2 separate regions of the Homo sapiens genome follow, and region 1 is linked to region 2. The links are contacts of gene promoters, found by promoter capture Hi-C in blood cells and fetal thymus (Javierre and others, 2016). All regions are on one chromosome and are shown on one strand. Each heading gives the region's core, a stretch centred on a gene start or on the middle of the fragment in contact. The rest is flanking DNA. Distances are from core to core; before and after follow the strand shown.

The links. Contacts are between HindIII fragments. The CHiCAGO score rates a contact against its expected background, and 5 or more counts as called.
Region 1: a fragment that was not itself captured here is called in contact with the fragment with the promoter of GPC6-AS1 in region 2 in 2 of 17 cell types (M0 macrophages and M2 macrophages); the score reaches 5.6 in M0 macrophages.

What each region holds. Positions count from the first base shown.
Region 1 is chr13:92,192,476-92,195,977 of GRCh38, forward strand. All of the region lies in intron 7 of GPC5 (glypican 5), which reads left to right. Among named protein-coding and RNA genes, the nearest start is that of GPC5-AS2, 160 kb to the right of the region's middle. The HindIII fragment of the contact is 3,840 bases long and covers 220-3,502 here.
Region 2 is chr13:94,186,562-94,189,928 of GRCh38, forward strand. It overlaps GPC6-AS1 (GPC6 antisense RNA 1), which reads right to left and starts at 1,430. Exons shown (of 4, transcript NR_046535.1): 1 at 1,310-1,430; 2 at 663-812; 3 at 345-557. The region is part of intron 4 of GPC6 (glypican 6); the gene reads left to right. RefSeq lists an enhancer at 1,586-2,501. The HindIII fragment of the contact is 1,586 bases long and covers 210-1,795 here.

The DNA of each region.
Region 1 (3,502 bases), core at 890-3,389, 2.0 Mb before region 2:
AGTAAAAATAAATGCGTGATAACAATGATCATTCCTTTTTTCACATTTCTTTCTTCTAAATTGTCTTAAAATTATAAAAAGCAATATGAGTTTATTTTTAATTCTAAATGTGGAGAAAAAAAGTATTGTTTAGTTGAAGCATTTGGTAATTATGAAATTAGATGTCTATTGGAGAGAACAGTGTTTATTAATTTTAGCTGACAAGGGAATAATTTAAAAAGCTTTCATTTTAGATTAATTTTATGTCTATGCCCACGTATGGGATTGCAGATTACTGAAATGTAGAACATACTTTACAGCAAATAAGTTTAATACCATTATGTTTGCATGACAAATACACATATTTTTCATTATTACTTTTTTTAAAATTTGAAATAATTTGAAAAAAATTTACTGAGAATTTATTAAAAACATATTGCTGCCAGGCGCTGTGGCTCATGCCTATAATTCCAGCACTTTGGGAGGTCAAGGCGGGCGGATCACAAGGTCAGGAGTTTGAGACCAGCCTGGCCAACATAGTGAAATCCCATCTCTACTAAAAATACAAAAATTAGCTGGGTGTGTTGGCGAGTGCCTGTAATCCCAGCTACTCAGGAGGCTGAAGCAGGAGAATTGCTTAAACCAGGATGCTGGAGGTTGCAGTGAGCCGAGATGGCGCCACTGCACTCCAGCCTGGGCGACAGAGCGAGACTCTGTCTCAAAAAAAAATAATAAAAAATATATTGCATATTATGCTCAGGTAGAAATTTCAAGAATATTATTAATTCAATTTCTGCCTACAAAATTTTACATTGAAATAAAATATTTTCTTTTTCCAATAAAAAAAGCAGAGTTTACTGGTTCATAACTCAAAATGGAATCAAATAGCATACATATTTGCATTTATATTATGAAACAATACAAATTCTGAACTCCATATCTCCAGTACTGTGAAAGAGTAACAGTATTCACTTTATTTTGTGTATGTAACTAACAGGAAAGGAGAATTCCCAGAGAGTTTCCTATATTGGATAATAGATGAGAGAATCCTATATTGGATAATGGACAAGAGAGAATTATTTAACTCCAGATTTGATTAAAATGATAAAACTACCTCTTAAGAATGATTATAGTTCAACTCTGAAATGTAAACTTAAACCATTTTCCTATCATTGTAAACAAATTAATCCGACAGTTATATTCACTCCTACTGGTGTGCTAAGGAATTGTTGACACTCTTTGGGCAGGATCTAAGTGGCTACACCCATTCGGCTCTGCCCCAGAAGTCCTGCATCCTTTCTGATACTTCCTTAATTAAATTACATGTACACTACATTCTCTTTCAAGAGGCTTTTATTGGCCAAGAAGATTAACCACTCCATTCTTTGTTCCCATTATACTCCATACAGCTTTTTGTTGCACAGGTAATTACGTACTGCTATATTTTTACTTATTTATTTCTTCTTATCCAACTATATACATTTTAAGGGGAAGAGAAATAATATTCTTTTTGAATCTGCAGTGTTTAGTACCATGGTGAACTCAGTGCCTGGCCAATAGCAGAAACTCAACAGTAACTTAATACATCTTTGTTATACGAATGAAAGGAAAGAAGGGAGGAAGAATAATGGAAATTATCATAGTTTATGGAGTCCATTTAAGTACTATTACTTCTTTATGGCAATTTACTCTCATAACAACCTTATGAAGTACAGATTATTATCCTCATTTTACAACTAAAACAAAACACAAGGTGATGATCAGAGAGTTTAAGCACCTTGCCTGAATTCACACAGTTCATCCTGTGTGCTTGGGATGCAAATAGTGAGTACCTCCGACTCCAGAGCAACACTCAGGACATGACAATGTTCAGAAGGTGTGTGATGCATGCCATAGGCTCTCCCTCATAAAAACACACTTGATCCTAATACCGTCACTGTGGACTAGATATTAGGATCCATTATTTGCAGATGAGAAAGAAAACAGTTAAAACAAGTCTCCTGTCTGAGCAATTTTGAAAGGTGCTAGGCTACAGAGATGCCATGATTATAAGTTCAAGGTTCATTCACTGCCACAAACCTGTCTTATAATACTTTTGCATATTTCCTCACTGAAAAATAGTATCCTCATTCAGAAATTACATAATGGCCATAGCTAGGTAAGTGTGTTCTGTGAATTTGGAAATCAGTTTCAGTTTGCTGCAGCCTGCAGGTATTCTCAAATGCATCAGAGAGTAGACTAGGAAAAATAAAACTGAAATGTAAAAGGAATGAGCAGGGGGTGTATATTAGGCTCTTTCTGACCTAGTATTAGCCTCCCCATCAGATTTCACTTCCAATGGTCTTTCTCCAACAACATGGTCTTTCAGGCCTTTCCTTGTAATCTAAGGTAGAGTGAGAAGGAAAGTGATTTTAGGGTCATGATTGAATGGCTAACAGCACAAATTCAAAGACTTCTTTTATCAGGAAAAAATAAGGTTATTTTATGGTAATTATCATTGGAAATTCTAAACCTTAAATCAGAGAAGCATTAGCAGTCAAAGATCTCTGCTGTAGATTTGTGGAGTTTGTATTACATTACAGATATTTTAGAAAGGCATAAATTGAAACCAACGATAAGAATTGACAATGAATCTGAAAATCAAGCCACTAAGACTGCATGGCCCTTCAAGATAAATCAACATTATAATATTCAATATTAAGCTCTATGCATTTTCTCATACAATAAAATAGTTTTGATCTCTAATCTAGAGACAGCCAAAAAACGGTGGTGGTGGTTGTTCTTTTTAATTCAGTGATACATATGTGCAGTGCCTAAAACTAAACAAGACAGGGCCTAATCAGCGTCTGGTATTATAAATTTACAAAAGAGGAGTAAAAAAGAATTAAGCCAAGCTCCGTGCAAAGTGTGTCATCTTTATTAGGTTTATAGTCATTATTTAATTTAACCTTTAAAATAACCCCTTGAGTTAGGAGCGTATTGGCTCCAAATAAATTACCAGTATATTGATCTTACTGTATGGCAAGTATTTGAATCTCAGATTCAAACCCAAATTTTTTTGGAGGCCAAATCAACTGCTTTTCATAACTACACTGCATTCCCACTCATATGCTTCTACTGACACCACGTATGTAAATGGGTCAGTAGCCATGGTGAAGTTAAGGACACAAGAATAAACCACTGATTTAGAATCATAACTGAAGCTAGATGACAGGGCACATGGCAAACACGAAATATCTGGCAAGGTCAGTTTTGATGAACAGTGACTGTAATAAACTCAAATGATACTTCATTTAGAATAAGTTATTTATATACTTAATAAAAATCATTATAGCCTTTAATTACTTAGGTTCATTTGTCATTAACTTTATCCCGGGTTTTCACTGATCTACCCATTCATCTACTCAGCATATACTTATGTGCTCACTGTGTACCAGGACTCAGAAGGGGGCTCTGAGAGTGACCTGAAGAGTGAATAGGGGTTTAAGGAGAGTGTAGCACTTTTAACAAGGAGGCGCAGGCC
Region 2 (3,367 bases), core at 180-2,679:
AAAATTCAACCCTTGGCTACGATGTTGGTGGGGGATTAAAGAGTAGCCTACCAGCCTCAAGTGGTCAAAATGACATGGACATTCTCACAGGCACTTTAAAGAAAAAAATGACGAGTTGGCTATATTTATGCATGCAGAATTATTTTTATAGAGTTCTATCTTGATTAAAACATAATTTAGTAGATTAAATATGCTATCTTCTTTGAGCAAGCTTTGGAAGACCAAGCTACTAGTAGAATTATACCAGAGTTAGGATACTGCCCTCTGCATACACTCAAATAGCAGGCCAGAATCCCAATAGAAAATGAGCATGCTTAGCTATGTTTCTGTAGTATGGAACTTACGAAGGTTCGATTCTTGATTTCTCATATGAATCAGAGCTCTCTCTCTCCTTTCCAGTGTGACCCAGTTGTATTTTGCATAGGCAGATGGTTTGAAGGAAAATTCCAGATTATTAGCATTTGCACTGGAGCTTGACAATCACCTTTATGAACCTGCTCTTGGAATAGCAGCCTTGGAAGATCCTGGAGTCAATCTCCTTTTATTTCAGATGAAAACTGATGACAGGGAAAGAGCCCAGGAAGAAAGTTTTTATTCTTGGTGCCTTGGGCAACGTGTGTATCCTCCCTCAAAAGAAGGCTTGGAGCAAAATGAACACTTACAGGAAACTGAGGCTCGTATGTTTTATGCAGTGAATCACCGGCATAATTGGAATTCTAACCTCGAAATTTTATTTCCAAATTTGACTGGCTCCACTCCTTATACATCAAATTGATCAAAGCAGAAATTACAGATTCAAATTTATGGTAAAGCTAAGAAAAAGAAAGCAGAACGATGAGTCAGAAGGTAAGAGGCCACGTAACCCAATATTTTTTTAGCATAAAGCATTCACGAATTTTACTGGCACCTCAACTAAAATGATGTTCTTTTAAAATCGTGTCACTTGATTATAAACATCTTGTTTTAAAAATGGAACATATAATCCAACATCCCCCAAATTTCTAGACTAATTCAAACATAAGAGTTGATCTTAATATGGATTTAGGTATTCAACAAATACTTATAGAGTGTCCACTATCGGGCAAACATTGTTCTAGGTGCTGGAGTTACAACAGTGAACAAATAGGCAAAACCTTTACCCTCATGAGGCTTAGAGTCCAGTGGAAAGGAAAAGACCAAAAATAAGATAAGAAAACTTTATGGAAATATATAAACATACATAGGTATGTCTATATAATACACTGTGATATACCTAGTAAGATATATATAGTTTTGAGAGAAAAACATGGCTAACTTGTTTGTGCCTTACCTTGTCATACAGAATTAGAATATTATCCATACTGAATTCCTGGGCCCAGCCCTGGCCAGTGTCTCTGCCATTTTATGGGGTACATTATCTCTGCTGAGCTAAGTAATTGCTAAATCCACACTGGAGGCTGTGTGAGTAGAGAAGTGACACACCAGTTAACAGGGTGAGAAATTAATGCAAATTAATTCTCCACCCTCCCAGCAGACACTGCTCCCACTTTCTTGCCCTTCTCCATCCCCCTGCCAGTTCACAGAGAAAAGTATGAATATTACAAATGATACTCACTTCATGTCTCAGTGACCTAGAAAGGAGTGTGTGCACTAAGGTGCAGCAGTGCTTTAATGACGCTGAGCCCAAAAGCAAGGCAGTGACACAAAGAGGGGAGTGGTGTCACTGAGAGGAAGGCCCAAGCACTTTCCCCTTCTGCACCTCTTCCCAGGAGACAGGGGTGAGTTAAGGCAGCACAAGGTCACTGGGATTGCCTGAAGCTTGACCACAGGCACGAGTGACTTTCCTCTTGGCTGGTACCATCTGTATAGGGGAATAGAAGATTTTTATCATAACAAAGGATATCTCAATAGAGTCAATTAGCCCAGCATGCCTCAGAGAGTTCTGTGATGTGAGTGGTCACTTCTTTGAACTAAAGTTGAATAAAGAAAAAAAGAAAGTGAAATCATTTCAGTTACAAAGAACCTAGCACTGCATTCTATAAGGTTTTATCATTCAGATTTGGAAGGAGACGGGAGCCATGGTGGATGCCGTGAGGTGTCACCAGATCCCTTTGTGGGACTATATCCATCCCCCACCCTCCAGCTGTTCTGAGGATTGGCTGCTCACCTCTGTCCCCTTCTTTAGGGACCTCTGTATCTGGAGAGGCACTTGCACCACACCCCATCCCATAGCTGGTGACCGATTTGTTATCAGAGCTCCTTCATACTAAAGAAAGAGAGACTGAGACTCAAGCTGCTGAAGAGCTTTCCTCAAAGTCTCACAATCTGGTCAGTCGTCAAAGGAGTCTGTCTGACTCCAAATCCATCCTCTCTCCCCTCAATCGTATAGTTGCTTTATTCTCTTCTAGTGCTGTGGAGAAGCAGCCCCAGTTTGCCACTGAATAATAAGCGTCCCCACCATTTCCTTTCCCCATTGTTGTTATAGGGATTCCTAATATGTGTTGCTAAGGCTTCACCTTATATCACCCAGAAGCTCTAACCTGTGGCTTCCTCAAGAGACATTATCCCTGAAAAACGGGTAGAAATTCAGGAAACTGCTTACTCAATTTCTCAGGTGGTGGCGGATGTTTTCTTCCTTATTCTTTGTTTTCTGCTTGGTAAGTCTGTGTGTAGGTGGTTTAATTGTGCTGAACAGATTCTTTCTCTCCTCTGTACAAAATGGGCTTTGGGGGTGGACAGGAGGAGGAAGAGAAAGATGTGAGTTTCACATAAGAGCAGAGGGATCCTTAGCCTGTCAGCTGAGAAACGAGGACTGTGTATTCCTGAGTAGTGCCTCCTGCCTTTCAAGCCTGGAAAGAGAACAGGAGAGGGAGGCATGCTCCCCACCCTGGGATGTTCCCTTTACTGCTACCACTTATTGCTTTACTGGACATCATAAAGATTGCAAGATGGACGGAATTTATTTGGATAAAAAGCAGTGGATGTTGGGTATAAGTAAATTAGCAACAGGTGATAGATTCTGAACATAGGACACCTCTAGATTGTTATGTCAATCCACACATTCCTTGCAATGTCAAGGAAGGAGTAAATTTTCCAGATAAATTAAACAATTAAAAGAGTATCAAAACTTAAAAAATTCATTCCATTTTGTGGAGATCTTTCCATGATCCAACATCTCTTCTCATTAAAATGTATGCAGAGCCAGGCGCGGTGGCTTACGCCTGTAATCCCCACACTTTGGGAGACCGACGCGGGCAGATCACAAGGTCAGGAGATCAAGACCATCCTGGCTAACATGGTGAAACGCCGTCTCTACTAAAAATACAAAAAATTGGCCAGGCGTGGTGGCGGGCGCCTGTAGTCCCAGCTACTCAGGAGGCTGAGGCAG